Linked DNA regions of Homo sapiens: regions 2, 3, 4 and 5 are each linked to region 1. The links are contacts of gene promoters, found by promoter capture Hi-C in blood cells and fetal thymus (Javierre and others, 2016). All regions are on one chromosome and are shown on one strand. Each heading gives the region's core, a stretch centred on a gene start or on the middle of the fragment in contact. The rest is flanking DNA. Distances are from core to core; before and after follow the strand shown. Region 1 holds the start of BTG1 (BTG anti-proliferation factor 1). Region 2 has its middle 44 kb from the start of PLEKHG7. Region 3 overlaps LOC105369896 (a long non-coding RNA gene). Region 4 overlaps LOC105369896 (a long non-coding RNA gene). Region 5 overlaps LOC105369896 (a long non-coding RNA gene).

Evidence for each region. Contacts are between HindIII fragments. The CHiCAGO score rates a contact against its expected background, and 5 or more counts as called.
Region 2: a contact is called between a fragment that was not itself captured here and the fragment with the promoter of BTG1 in region 1, in 3 of 17 cell types (M2 macrophages, M1 macrophages and total B cells). The highest score is 5.7, in M2 macrophages.
Region 3: a fragment that was not itself captured here is called in contact with the fragment with the promoter of BTG1 in region 1 in 2 of 17 cell types (activated CD4 T cells and total CD4 T cells); the score reaches 6.0 in activated CD4 T cells.
Region 4: a contact is called between a fragment that was not itself captured here and the fragment with the promoter of BTG1 in region 1, in 14 of 17 cell types (naive CD4 T cells, total CD4 T cells, naive CD8 T cells and 11 more). The highest score is 26.8, in naive CD4 T cells.
Region 5: a contact is called between a fragment that was not itself captured here and the fragment with the promoter of BTG1 in region 1, in 9 of 17 cell types (non-activated CD4 T cells, M2 macrophages, naive CD4 T cells and 6 more). The highest score is 15.8, in non-activated CD4 T cells.

The regions. Positions count from the first base shown.
Region 1 is chr12:92,144,526-92,147,225 of GRCh38, forward strand. BTG1 (BTG anti-proliferation factor 1) reads right to left here and starts at 1,321. Exons shown (of 2, transcript NM_001731.3): 1 at 863-1,321. The coding sequence starts at 1,010. BTG1-DT (BTG1 divergent transcript) reads left to right here and starts at 1,560. Exons shown (of 3, transcript NR_135036.1): 1 at 1,560-1,718; 2 at 2,137-2,237. RefSeq lists enhancers at 1-32, 293-342, 302-838, 1,673-1,972 and a silencer at 763-1,082. The HindIII fragment of the contact is 11,880 bases long and covers 1-2,379 here.
Region 2 is chr12:92,658,129-92,660,828 of GRCh38, forward strand. No RefSeq gene overlaps it. Among named protein-coding and RNA genes, the nearest start is that of PLEKHG7, 44 kb to the right of the region's middle. The HindIII fragment of the contact is 973 bases long and covers 935-1,907 here.
Region 3 is chr12:91,561,446-91,564,165 of GRCh38, forward strand. All of the region lies in intron 1 of LOC105369896 (a long non-coding RNA gene), which reads right to left. Among named protein-coding and RNA genes, the nearest start is that of LINC02823, 240 kb to the left of the region's middle. The HindIII fragment of the contact is 3,807 bases long and covers 1-2,720 here.
Region 4 is chr12:91,383,109-91,385,808 of GRCh38, forward strand. All of the region lies in intron 4 of LOC105369896 (a long non-coding RNA gene), which reads right to left. Among named protein-coding and RNA genes, the nearest start is that of LINC02823, 58 kb to the left of the region's middle. The HindIII fragment of the contact is 3,526 bases long and covers 1-2,700 here.
Region 5 is chr12:91,579,196-91,581,895 of GRCh38, forward strand. The region is part of intron 1 of LOC105369896 (a long non-coding RNA gene); the gene reads right to left. Among named protein-coding and RNA genes, the nearest start is that of LINC02823, 250 kb to the left of the region's middle. The HindIII fragment of the contact is 1,797 bases long and covers 414-2,210 here.

The DNA.
Region 1 (2,700 bases), core at 71-2,570:
CTTTGAGGAGCGAAAATGAAAACTATCAACTTTTTAAAATGTCCAGGATTGCATCCGTTGTTGTGCATGTGCGGGGATGGAAAAAGCGGGCAGGGTTTTAGAAATAACACAGTAGTACCGGACAAAACAATCTCCAGGAACCAACCGGTTGAGCCGCCAAAACAGGAATCAGGCGCGCAGCCTCGGCCAGTCGGGAAGCCACTGGCACCTATGGCCAGGCGAGAAACTGTTTACTTTCTCCACCCCACCCCAGATGCACACAATGGAGTTGATGGCTTTGGAGATGAGAAGCGCCACCGGACTGTTAACCCCGAAGGGAAGAAAAACAAGCAACCCTAAACCACGCTCTGGGCAGGGCTGTTAATTGTGCCGGTGACAAATCCGATGATTAATGGGCAGGGGCAGGAGGCGCGGGGAGACGGCACGTCCGTTCTGAGCTGGCTCCGGGGCAGCGGCGCAGCTTCCCACCCCGGGGCTGGGCCGCCGACCACGCAACGGTTGGAGGGGGCTGAGGAAAGGGGACGTCGAACCCACCCCAGCCCCACGGCTCCTTTGTCCCCAAATCCGCCGACGGTCCTCGGACCGCAGCTCCCGCCTCGGTGGGCTTAAGTTTCTTTGTTGTGCGTGTTGTCTTCTCCTCTCCGTTTTGCCAGCTGGGGGGAAGGGGGCGCCCTCCGTCCAGCCCCTAAAGCCTCGCGGGGAACCGCTGTTAGCGGCCACCCAGCGCAACCACACCGGTCCCGCGGCGGGGCCCAAGCGCGACCGGCCCCGGGGCGCTGCCGAGGTTCCCGCAGCCCCGACGGCCGGACTCTGACCCAGGGATGTGGGGCCCGCGTCCCTCCGACGCCCTCGCCCTGCTCACCTGCCAGCAGCTCCTGCAGGCTCTGGCTGAAGGTCTGCAGCTGTCGCTCGCTCGTGAGCCCCTTGGTGCGGAGAAACTTGGAGATGAAGGACACGGCGGCGGCGATCTCGCCTATCATGGTGGCGGCCCGGGTGTAGAAGGGATGCATGGGGGCGGCGTGCGGGGGCGGCCCGGGGCGGCTGGGGCTCGGCGGCGCGGCCCCGACGGCGGAGCAGCCACCCCGGGCTTCCTCACCGGGCGGAAGGCTGAGAGGAAGAGAGGGCGTGAGGGGCGGACGACTACTTTTGTCTTTCTTTCTTTAGACTAAAAAAGTTATTTTCGAGACAGGAGGCGGCAGGAGAGAGGAAGAGACGAGCGATGGCGGCCTGGTCACATCGCTCGGACCTCCCCAGCTGCCTCCGCCTCCAGCTCCGCAGCATTCGAAGATCTCAATAGCTGCATTTCCAGCTCCGAGAGGCGAAGAGATGCAAGCGCCGTGCAGCACCCTTTATAGTGCCACGAAAAGGAAGTGGCGTAGCTGGAGCGTGATGGCCGACTCCAGCCAATCCGAATATCGCACCATTGTGACGCAAGCCGGTTCGGAGCCGAAAGGGGCGGGAAAAGAGTTCAGGAGGCGGGTCCAGAGATAGGGAAGAGAGGGAGGAGCTGACGTAATCCGCTTGTAAACAAATAAACCCGGAGTGGCGGCTGGAGACCCAGTTGCTTGTGTCGAGGGAGGGAGGGAGGGAACAGAGGGTGCGCGTGTGAAAGCTCCGCCCCCAGCCCTAGCTCCTCCTTCCCGCTTCAGCAGGTCCAGGCTCTGCGCCAGTGCATCCTTCTCCAAGAGTGCGCTGCCTGGGCCCGCTTGCCCTGGAGTGTAAGTGCTGGGTAAATAAGAACCGCCTGGCGCAGGCTGTGTCTACTCTTCACGCCGCCTTCTCAGATCGGGCTGCATGTCCCCACTCCGTGTTTACATCTCGTTCCCGCTCCGGGTCTCGGTGACTGGCTCCTCAAGCCGGAGACGCGTGTGGTGCGGCGCGATGCGGGCGCCAGCGCTGTGTGTGCTGGCGGTGCGCTGCCTTAGTGCGGGGGAAAGTGGAGGGAACGGTCCTGCGGGGCGTTCTGTCCAAGAAAAAGGACTGCAGCCTCGGGGAGCCAGGGTCCCCTCGCAGACGAGCTGCCAACGCCGCGGAGCCATTTCTGTTCCACCCTAGGGGAGGAGTAGGGGGATATCTTTTAAAAGTTTAATTGCAAAATAAGTAGGTTAGTAAGGCCATTTGTGGTTGCTGTTTCAGTAACTTCAGCAGTCAACGGAGAGAAGAGTGGAAACCTTACTGGATGCGGACAGGAGAGCCAGTTACTGAAAGCAGATATAACGCGGATCCTGTAAAGAGTGGTGTGTATCCAAAAAAAAAAAATCTGTACAATGTATTTTAAAACTTGTGTGCACAAAACTGAAGATTTTCTTTTTTACCTAGTCCAAATGCCGTCCTAGCCTGAGTCCTGCTCTTTATAAAAATAAAATAAAAAGAATTTGAAGCTTGTGAAAGTATTAAGTGTAGACATTCAAGTTTATTTGAAACCCTACCAAAAAAAAAAAAAAACAACCTTAAAAACCAGTGTAACAGGAAGGCGGGAGCCTGCTAAAACGATTAGGCCTAAGACAGGGTTAACCCCAACTCCATTAAGGAGAAGGGGGAAAAGAAAAAAAGAAAGATGAAGGGAGGCAGGCAGATGGAGAAAGCAAACAGGAGGCAGAAGTTGAACTCTACCAGATGGAAATAAATATCCCGACCTTAGTTGATCATCAATATTGCAAAACACACCACTTTGAGTGTTTTTTTTTTCTTTTTAATACT
Region 2 (2,700 bases), core at 171-2,670, 510 kb after region 1:
AAAAAGAGTATTTCTCTGGTTCCATGAATAAACCATTGCTTAAATCATTCTCAAACTATAATGTGTATAAAATTCACCTGGAATCTTGTCAAAATGCAGATTCTGATGCAATAGTTCTGGGTAGGGCCTAAGATTTTGCGTTTCTGACAAACTCCCAGGTGACACCAATGCTGCTATTCTATGAACTACAGTTTCAACAAGGTCTTACCCGACGGCTTCCAAATTTCCTTCTCCTTTTCCTTCTCCATGGAGAGCCCTCTTCAGAGGGACTCTTAAGAATTATCTCATCCTATTCCATTTATTACTCTACAGGGAGAGGCAACCTAACCTGGCTTTAACCATAACTACTTGCACAATGAGGAGGAGCAGATTTCCCATCTCTGATTCGCAGATGGGAAACACTGTGGCAGGTAAGGGATTTCATCAGGGCTGCATGGCAAGTAGCTGAATTCCGTAACATATGAAGAATTGCTTCCATTTCTACATTTCTTGTTAAAAGACTCAGAGGATGTTGAGCACTTAGAAACAAGCTGAAGAGCATGTCTGGCCTGAGCCCGATGAAAGTCAGAGTCAATAGCGTAAGCAAAGGACCAGGCACATTCCCTGTTCCTTTCCCTGGTCTCTGCTTCTCATTTCTTAATCTTTGCTCATACTCAACCAGGCTACCAGCAATCTGGAGACACATATGGATGGAAAAGATGCCAAGGGAAGCCCTCCCCTCCTTCCATGATTACTGTCCTTCATTGCAAAAGAAACTCTTTTTAAATATGCCTGGAAAGCAGTACCTGTTGTTTTTTATGTGGGTAAAGGCCAGTGGTATGCTACAAATGTTTAACAACTGACCATCAAAAAAAAAAACAAAACAAAAAGAGGCCCTCTTTTGTAGCATTTGCCAGTTTCCATGGTGTAAATACTCTCACTCTGGCCAATATCAAGCTTCCAACATGACTTTACTGAACATGGAATTAGAAAGATATGAGGCCAGTGACTCTCACAAGCTAGTATGAGCCGGCCGCAGTTCATCATGATAAAGCCTATAATTTTATCATCAGGCAAAATTAAAACTGTAGATTCAGAAAAGATTTACACCTGTTTGATCAACCTTCTCATCATCACGTCCCTTTACTACCAAAGTAAGTTGACCTGCCATTGCTCTTTAACAGTTGGTAGTTTTTCTTTAATGCAAGGTATTTAGCAGAAACCACCACATAAATTAAGCCCTTGTCCTATAGATAGCTTTTACAAAGAGCTTTCCTTGATCCCTATTGAATTATTGCCCTGGACCAGAGAAATACAATGCCCTTCCCAACAGTTTAATGTATTTAGTAACCCTCTGGAAAGAGAAAAATAACAAAACAAAACATTACAATTTTACATGTTGAAATTAAAATGAATCAAAACTTTTTTTTTTTTTTTGAAACAGGGTCTCACTCTGTTGCCCAGACTGGAGTGTAATGGCCCATTCATGCCTCACTGCAGTTTCAACCTCCTGGGCTCAAGCAATCCTCCCGCCTCAGCCTCTTGAGTAGCTGGGACTACAGGCACATGCCACCATGCTCAGCTAATTTTTTGTCTTTTTAGTAGAGACAAGGTTTCACCATATTGCCCAGCCTGGTCTTGAACTCCTGGGTTCATGTGATCTTCCCACCTTGGCCTCTCAAAGTGCTGGGATTACAGGCATAAGCCATCACACCTGGCCCTCGAACTTTTTATTATGTTCTAGTTATACATTGTATGAAACTTTTTCAGGCATTGAAATAAATGCCTTTATACCACTTAAAGGAAATGAGAAAATTTTTTGTACAAGAACAAAAAGATCATATGGCTGTGTTGAATGACAATATTTCTTAAAAATTTATTAGTGATCAATTTCTATTCATTTAAGAATAGTTTGAAGTTAAAATGTAAGCTTTAGGAGATATGTATTCTTTGACAGATTTTAAGGGTTATGGAAATCAAAACAAGTTTGGTAAGTGGCTATAGTAGATTGCCAAAATTTTCACAAATTATTCCCTTCCTTAACAGCTACGTCCTTTGCAATATAGCTTTGCAATTTCTCCCATCAACAGGTGGAGTTGGTCTTGTGCCTTCTTTGGCCAATGGAATGTGACAAAGCAGCATTGCAGTTCAAGCCTAGGCTTTAAGAGACCTTTTGGGATTTCCTAATTGCTACAAAAAAAACCTGACACCAGGTGAGTAAACCCAGGGTAGCCTACTGGGGGATGAGAGACCACCTGGGACAAAGATGAACCATCCCAGGTAAGCTTTGTACCCCAACCACCACGACACACCAGCCAGGCTCCAGCTGACCTAGCACCTTCTCACACCTGAGCCCAGCTCAAATCGCCAAACCACAAATTCTTCCAAAATGGGATGTTGATTTACACCAGGGGTATCCTATCTTTTGGCTTCCCTGGACCACAAGGGAAGAATTGCCTTTGGCCACACATAAAATACACTAAGGATAGCTGATGAGCTTTAAAAAAATTGCAAAAAAAATCTCATAATGTTTTAAGAAAGTTTGCAAATTTGTGTTGGGCCACATCCAAAGCCATGCTGGGCTGCATGTGGTCCCGTAGGCCATGGGTTGGACAAGCTTGATTTATGCCATTGAGCTTTGTAGTGCTTTAATAGCTAAAACTAATTGATATAGTCACCTATATCAGGAAATACTCAAAATACACCCCAACCATATGCTGT
Region 3 (2,720 bases), core at 137-2,636, 580 kb before region 1:
GAAGAGGTAAGAACAATTCATGTGAATTGTGAAGAGTCCTACAAGAAAGCCAGATTGTTCCCTGGGGTCTCTTTGAGGGCAGGGAGAGAGAATGAAAATACAGATAATGAGGATGACTCTTGGCAGGTAAATGTTTGTAAAAGTAATGTCATTGTTTATAAAAGTAATGTCATAATGGAAAGGCTGCAGAGGTGAGGGGTTAAATCCAGGAAGGGAGGTGAATGGAAACTTGAAATTTGGAAATTTTGAATAGTTTGATCTTAGCACAAACCATTTACAATAACTTTCAATATAAAAATTGAAACATGATATATAAGTATATGACTATTTTTCAGCATATGCTATGCATTATAATTTGGAAGAAGGCCTAGATCTCTATGTAATAGTAGAATCTCGCCTATAACTATGTCTAACATGAGAGGCAGAAGGTTTAATAAAATATTTTTAAATTGCCATTAGTCCTGCCTTCACTCATTTAGTTTCAATGAATGACATTTCTAGTTTAAAAAAATAGCATATGAAAATTTCCTCCAATGAAATACCATATTTAGTCCATAATATAAGATAAAATTTAAAAGATTTATGAAACCCAATTTTGGCAATGATGCAGGGAAATGAGTACTCACATACATCATAAATTGTCGGTAGGAGTATCTTTCAGCTTAGCAACACTTAAATGGTGTATGGTTTTTAACTCAGCACTTTCATACCAGAGAAATATTTGCACTTATGTAGTACAAGGATCCTTAAAAGAGGAAAGAGAGAGGCAGAAGAGTGAGAGTCTGAGAAGAATATGTGACTGTGCAAGTAGATGATGGGATCACCGTTCACTTTGAAGTATGGGGCAAGGAATGCAGGCATTCTCTAGAAGCTGGAAAAGACAAGGAAAGGAAAACTCCCCTAGAGCCTCCAGAGGGCACAGCTCATTCTTTATTATTTCAGCCCAGTGAGATCTATGTTCAATTTCTGACCTCAATATTCTAAGAAAATAAATTTGTGCTGTTTTAAGCCTTACATTTGTGGTAATTTGTTATAGCAGAAATAGGAATGTTGTGATTTTTAGTGTGCAAGAGATGTGATGTAATCTAATTGCCAATATATGGTTGGCTGCTTTCCTCAAAGCATGTTACCCCATTTGGGGTTCAGTTTCACTTTCTGTTCCTGGAAGATCAGACCTGCACTGGAAGCAATAGTTAGGCCAGTGCTGGTGAGAGGGAGCCCAAGCTGTTGAGTCAACGAATAGCCTCTGTCTCTACCATAATGAGAACAATATTCATGAACCTATTTTGCTAGCATTAAGATGGCTGAGGACAGAATCCAGCTGACATCAGCTAGTGAAGTCATTCTCTCCACTTGGTTGCTTAGTGCCTCTTCTACAATGGCATTAAGAAGTAGTATAGTGATGCTAATACTTTCTGTTCATTTCCATAAGTCCATACACATTTTTCCCCTCCTTGAACTTCTGATTTCACTCATTATAGGCTCTTCAACAGGGAGCTAAGTTATTTATTGCTCATGAGTTTATGTATACCCTTACTTAAGGCTGCTTCTCTCTCCACATTAAGTGAATGACCAGATGTACTTTCCAATACTCTCCCAGTTGATAGGATTTTCCTCCATCACTATCTTCCAGGACCATCCTTGCCTGGAACTTTGTTGCAGAAAAACAAAATTCCATCTTACAAACATATTTTAAGTTGGCCCTTTCATGAGCTCAGTTTGGGCCTTTTCTTCCTCTCGCAGCTGATAGCTCATGAAGCCACAGGAATGAGTCGAAAGAGTGGTGTCATACAGTTGGCATAAATACGTGGGTCATCTTTTTGTGAAGATTACTGTAATCTCTAGCATGTTCAATTCCAATCCTTCATGTATAATAGCCATCTTATGATAAATTGCTGATTAGCCTACCTCACCTTGTATCTTGGTTGGTCTTATAGTAGTCAGTACATGAAGGTTACTTGAGTTTCCATAGTCAGACATTTTTTTTTTTATCATGGCATTGTAGCATGTCATGAGCTGCTTTTCAAATGATACATAAGTTCTTTTCTGCAGATGGCAAGGCCTAGTTCCATAATCTCAGAGGTCTGTGCTGTGATTCTCCTACTAGGCTTGCCAGGGGCTCCATTTGGTATTTTTGTTTCCCACAGATGCCGCTAACCATGGCACTGCCAGGTTATATGCCTTATGTGGCATAGCTCCTCATATCTGTTAAAGTGGTCTTTCTTCCCTGGCCTCACTCAAAGTGAGCAGTTCCACATCTTTCCCAATACATGTGTCAATGCAATATTTACAAGTTCAAAATATGCTATCCACCAATGGATGTCAATATCAAAGGGCAAAATTTTGAAGAGAAACAGTATGTTGGCATAACCTCGAAGTAGCTTTCCAAAGATATTTATCAATTATAAAGAGAATGTAGTAACTTTATAGTGGTGAAACTCAGCAGATACCACCTATACCAGATAATCAAGGTTAACACACTAGCAATGCGGCACATCAAAATATTGTGCTCCCTGGTATAGCGTACTGACAAAAAGACAACACTTCTGTGGTATCCTTGCCAAAAAATGCATAATCTCCGTATGATCATGACAAAACATCAGACAAATCCAAATATTCAACAAAATGACTTATTAGAGCTCATCAAAAGTGTCAAGGCCATGAAAGATAACAAAACATTTACAAACTATTAGTGATTGAAGGAGACAAAGGAGTCACAA
Region 4 (2,700 bases), core at 169-2,668, 760 kb before region 1:
ATAATTATAATAATAAAAGAAAAAGAAAAATCCACCTAGGAATTGTATTCCTAAACAACGAAATCTCCAGATGACTACGGATATGTAGTTTTCAACATGCAATATCTGGAAAGAATGTGGGTTCTGTTTCTTTGCAGTAATTCTGTGTGTTTTATAGTCTTTGCTTTATCATCCTGGCCTAGAGCCAGTTAAAGAAATTCATCACCAAATGTGCAACAACCCATGAGAGGGAGTCCAGCATTGAGTTTGGAAATAGAATGAGGTGATTGTAGAGGAAGAGGCCGAGGCTGTCAGTGATGTATTTCCCTATCTCCCTGAGCCTGTCAGCTATTGAGTTGCTCAAGTCCCAGCCCTGACACCTAGCTGCCCCTGTGCCACCATCAGGATGCCCAGTGAGAGAAGAAGAGATGGGGAAATGGAAAGAAATCATCCTGTCCCACCTGCCCATGCAGTAAAGAAGACAAGGAAGAATTTGTAGAAGCCAGGGGTGGAGAGTCTTCCCCCAGAGGAGAGAGGCTCATTGGTCATAGGCCCTAGGGCAGTGGAACCACAGCCCTGGTCCTCAGATGAATGTGGGAGAAGGCAGGATGACTCCAGAGTTGAATATTAGATGTCAGGAGCCCGCAGAAGTGAGAGATGGCTACCAGGAGATGGGACCACAGCTGGGTTCGTTCCAAACATGACCAAAGATTCCCACCTGAGACTGGTACACAAGCACTTGAGAACTGCCAGATGTCAAGGGGATCTTCTGGATAGTGAAAAAATCAGAAGTGACCATGTTAGCCAGAACATCAGCTTCTTCCCTATTTTCATGAAGATTTAAGGCTCCCAGTCTCTGGTGCTATTTTGAAAAGGCTAGAGGAATTCTTGGCAATATGGTAGAATTGAGTCTTGGAGTTAAAACTACGTTAGATTAAGATAAATAATACAAAAGCCATTTCTAACATATCTGAGATTTGCATTATACAAAAGACCATAGTTTATATTTTCTAACAACTGTGTTATTTATCACTGCATTCGTTCCTCAGTACAATCCTATAATGGAATTAGGACAGGTGTCCTGATCCATTTATGCCTAGTGTTCCATTATTGGAACGCTAAGCATCTGGGAGTTATTTATATCCTGCTGCTCAAGGTCATCACCAAGATCTGATTGCAAAAATTCAAAAAATTGCAGCTTCAGGCACAAATGGGTTAATTAGCATTAACAAAGCAAGCCCTTCTGACTTTTATGTTATTCTTCACAAAACTCTCTGGGATTTGTCATTATTATATTAAGTAAACATTTTGAAGTTTTGTAAACACTAAGTTGAGGGACTTGGCAAAGATCATTCAGGCTCTGTCTTCTGTGCTGAAACAAAATTGATAATTGAGATACTTTTCTGAGTAATTTTATTATGAAATCCTCCTCTTATCAGAAATACCTGCATCATGTTTCATTGCTAATTTTGGAAACAGAACAACAGACCTTTGAGAGAGCACTGGCTTGGAAACTAGATTTTGAGATTAACTGTTATGTAAGGACTTAGGATTTTGCTAGTTACAGGTGCCAGGGAGAAATTGGTCATAGCTAGGAAGCTAAAAAATGGAAGCCAAGCTATATAAAAGACAAGATCCCGTAGCCATGCACTAGGTAAAGGGTATGGTCATGAGGACTGGAAGCCCAGTAATTCCAAAATTAGGTGGAAGTGATTTTACAAAAAAGTCTATAATTGTGACGGTATGGATAGACAAGAAATCAAGAATCCTGAGTAGCACAGCTAGAACTGGAAATGGTAAGTAGCAAATTTATAAAGTCTAGAAAGTTAGCAGCAAATCTTGGTTATGAATGGCCTAAGTCATATGAAATCCAGATCCTCACAAAGGGAACTGAAGCACCAAAATGGAGGAGGAGTCAATATTGAGGAAATAACTACTTCCTAGGAACCTAGTGTAGAAGTGCAAACAGCTGTGGATTCTCAGTTCTAGATCAGGAATCATAAGTGAGGGGCACTCCTACCATTGTCCTTTCATTCACATTTGTCAGCCACCAGGCATCACCAGTGAAACACAGCACCCTTTTCTGTGACATCTGGAAGCGGCCTTAATATCTTTCTCAATACAGTGACCCAAGAAACCACAGGAAATCAATTGGAATTACAGTTTTGGGTGTATATTAAGCAAACAACTTAATGTAGCCTATAGGAGAATTAGAGTCACAGTTCTATAGAGTAGGGTGACTATACGTCGCACATGTCCCAGAATGTTTTTTGTTTACATCTCTTGTTACAACATAATTAATAGCACCCCATTCACTCTCAAAGGTGTCCCAAGTATGGACTATAAATTATATTGTCCTTCTGTTTATGGGGAAAATAGTCAGACATCCAAGCCCTACTTCTGACTGACCATGTAATCTTAAGGCTATGTAAAACCACTGAATCAAGTTACTGAAGAAAACAGATACCCTGTATATTTGGTACCATGGAGATCACATTTGTTTTATGCATATGCATGATCTGTTTATGGATTATGGGTCTCAAATTCCCTTCTAAGAGAAATGAATACCTACATTCAAAACTAAAAGGGAGTGATCAGTGACATAAAAAATACTCAATGTGTTTTGTGATCCTTGAGATCAGAGGCTATGAAATGAAGTAAAGAATATTTTACTTAATATTGTTATATACATTGCAAGAAACATTACTTCAAGTTTGCTAA
Region 5 (2,700 bases), core at 62-2,561, 570 kb before region 1:
ACACACAACACCACCACCATCACCACTGACATCACCTCACCCCCACCACCTCCACCCCTCCTGTAATCAAAACAGCTTTCTACCAACAGAAAAGGGACAACAGGCAAGTTAAAATTGAAATTGGTCTTTGAACAGCAGAAACAAAATAGAAGATTGCAGATTAGAGCCATTGTCTTGTCCCAGTAATATAAACCAGACCCCCCTCAGTGCTTATTTTCTCAGAATTGAAGAAGATAAATCAAAGATTATGAGCCTAACCAAAAAGAGGCATCCTTATGCTAGTGGCTTTTACAGTCATAAAAAGAGCAAAGCCAGAAGTGAGTATTTTCAATTGTCATTTGTAATAATTAGTAAAAATACTGCAGTTTTCTGTCATAAATCCTGTTGTACGTGGAGGGATTTATTAATCTTTAAGCTTTGGTATTTATTGTAGACGCTACTTATACAGAGGAAACATAAAACTAAAGGACTCAGCTTGATTTTCCTAATTCCTGAAGGTAGAATAAAATCAGAGATGCCAAAGATCTGAAAGAAACATGTGCTTGAACAGCCTGGATAGAAGCTCATTTAAAATCAGCAATATAATTCACAGTGGGGTTTGGATGGAATACTTTAACTGACCTAGTGGTCTTAGTTTCAGAGAAAATCCGTCATACAGTCTAAACTTAGTAAATATCTGAATATCTATCATATGCCTAACAAATGGCAAATATTGATTAACTTAAATATTATAGAGTTGAACTTAGATGATGAGATAATTCTTTGCATTGTTAAGCAATAAAAAACATTACTAATTTGTAGGCCAAGACAGAAAAATGATTCAGAGTGAATGCAAAGGAGATGATGAATTAAGATGATCTGATCCTTCCTGTCATAAAAAATAATCACCATTTTTCTAACCCAAATAAGAGCCACACTGAAAAGGGCTGAAATGCAGCTCTCTTTTACTTGGTGCATATACTTAATGTCAAGTCAAGAAAGCCAGTCCTGTACCTGTATATGCCTTACTGTGTATCCATTTACAGTTGCTGATCTATGTTTACAGGCTACTCTATCTCTTAGAATGTGCTTCAGTATGTTATATATGTACTTAATATATACCAGTAATACCCATTTGTTTGAAGATAGAATATGCATGTGAAGAATTAGCTGTAATATTTTGGAAATATAATTAAATTTGCATTCTAAATACTTGCATTTAAATCTCAGCTTTGATTGTTACTGACAGTAAAACCTTAGACAATTAATTGTGCTTCTCTAATCTTCAGCTCCCTCATCTGTAATGTGAAGACAATTATGTTTTTAAGAGATGTTGGGAGGAAAGAAAGAAAACACGTACAATGGATCCAACACAGTGCACAGCAAATAGTTGAATATCCATGTATGTGTGTATATGTATGTGTATATATACATAACTTTGAATGATCAAAGCAATATATATTCATTGAGTAATTTTGCAAGGAAGCAATATTGAATTATTTAACATTTAACAATAAAGGAAAAATATAGCTTTTTAATTTCTTAGAACAATTACTTATTTACTTGACTTAAAGGATGATAATGACCCATAATTTTTGTATATGTATAGTTATTTGCATTGAATGGGTAGTATTCAAATTAATTTTCAATTGTTGAATCAAACAAATATGTTTGAATGCTTATTTTATGTTTAATAACAGAAGAGGGGAAAGAATTATTTCAGCAGTTTATTGTCTTCCAGGAGATTTCAAAGTTTTGGGAGAGATGATACATTAAAGAAACACTTATAAGACACTTAGTAATTATCTTATTATATCAGATGTAAGTGTTCTAGGAGGCAAAAAGAAATGTTGGTAAATTAAGAACAGTTACTGCTTTTATGTGCATTTATAAAATGGCAAAAATCTGTTTATTTTATGAAAGAAAATTCTTTATGAATATCTAATATGAAATTATGATCTCTTGAAATATCTTCTATACATTTAGGAGAATAATGTTTCTTGAAGTAAGTATTTTTTGACAGTGCTAAAAAACTCAAATCTCAGTAGGTTTACAGTTGAAAATAATTTAAAAGAAACAGCAAAAAAGATGAACATCTTCAGAGAAATATACTTGTAACAAGTTAATATCTTTAAAAACTACATATACAAAATAGTAATGTATAGAACATATTTTCAAGTTATAGTTCTGTGAGAAAATTAAAAATGTGGAATCACGGTCCTTTTTTTACAAGCTTTGAATTACCATTTTTAAAACTGGTGGTGAAAGCTGATTGATTTTACTAGAGTTTTAGTTTGCTATTTTTGAGAAAATTCTGACTGAAGGAAATATAGGTTTTATATACTCTGGACAAGAAGGAAGAAACCCAGCTTTTTCTTTGTGTAGAATCTCAAGTCCAGATGCTGTTTTTTTTCTTCATGAAAATTCATAGTGTATCTATTATAGCTTCCTAATTAAAGTCACACATGTATGAATAATGTTTTGAAAATCAGTCACTATCCACTTTACATATGTTAACATATATTATGTTTTAGAGTCATTTTTTGCCAAAGAGCTCAGGGTGCTACATAACTTACATGAAGTAGCAGTACTACTAATGTTTTGCTCATTGATTAGCTTCAGGAATTTTATAATGATGAAAAGTGAAAAAGCTAGAGTTTAATATTTTCTAAAACCCAATTAAATTCTGTGACTATAAAAGTGTTGTTTCATTTTCTTATG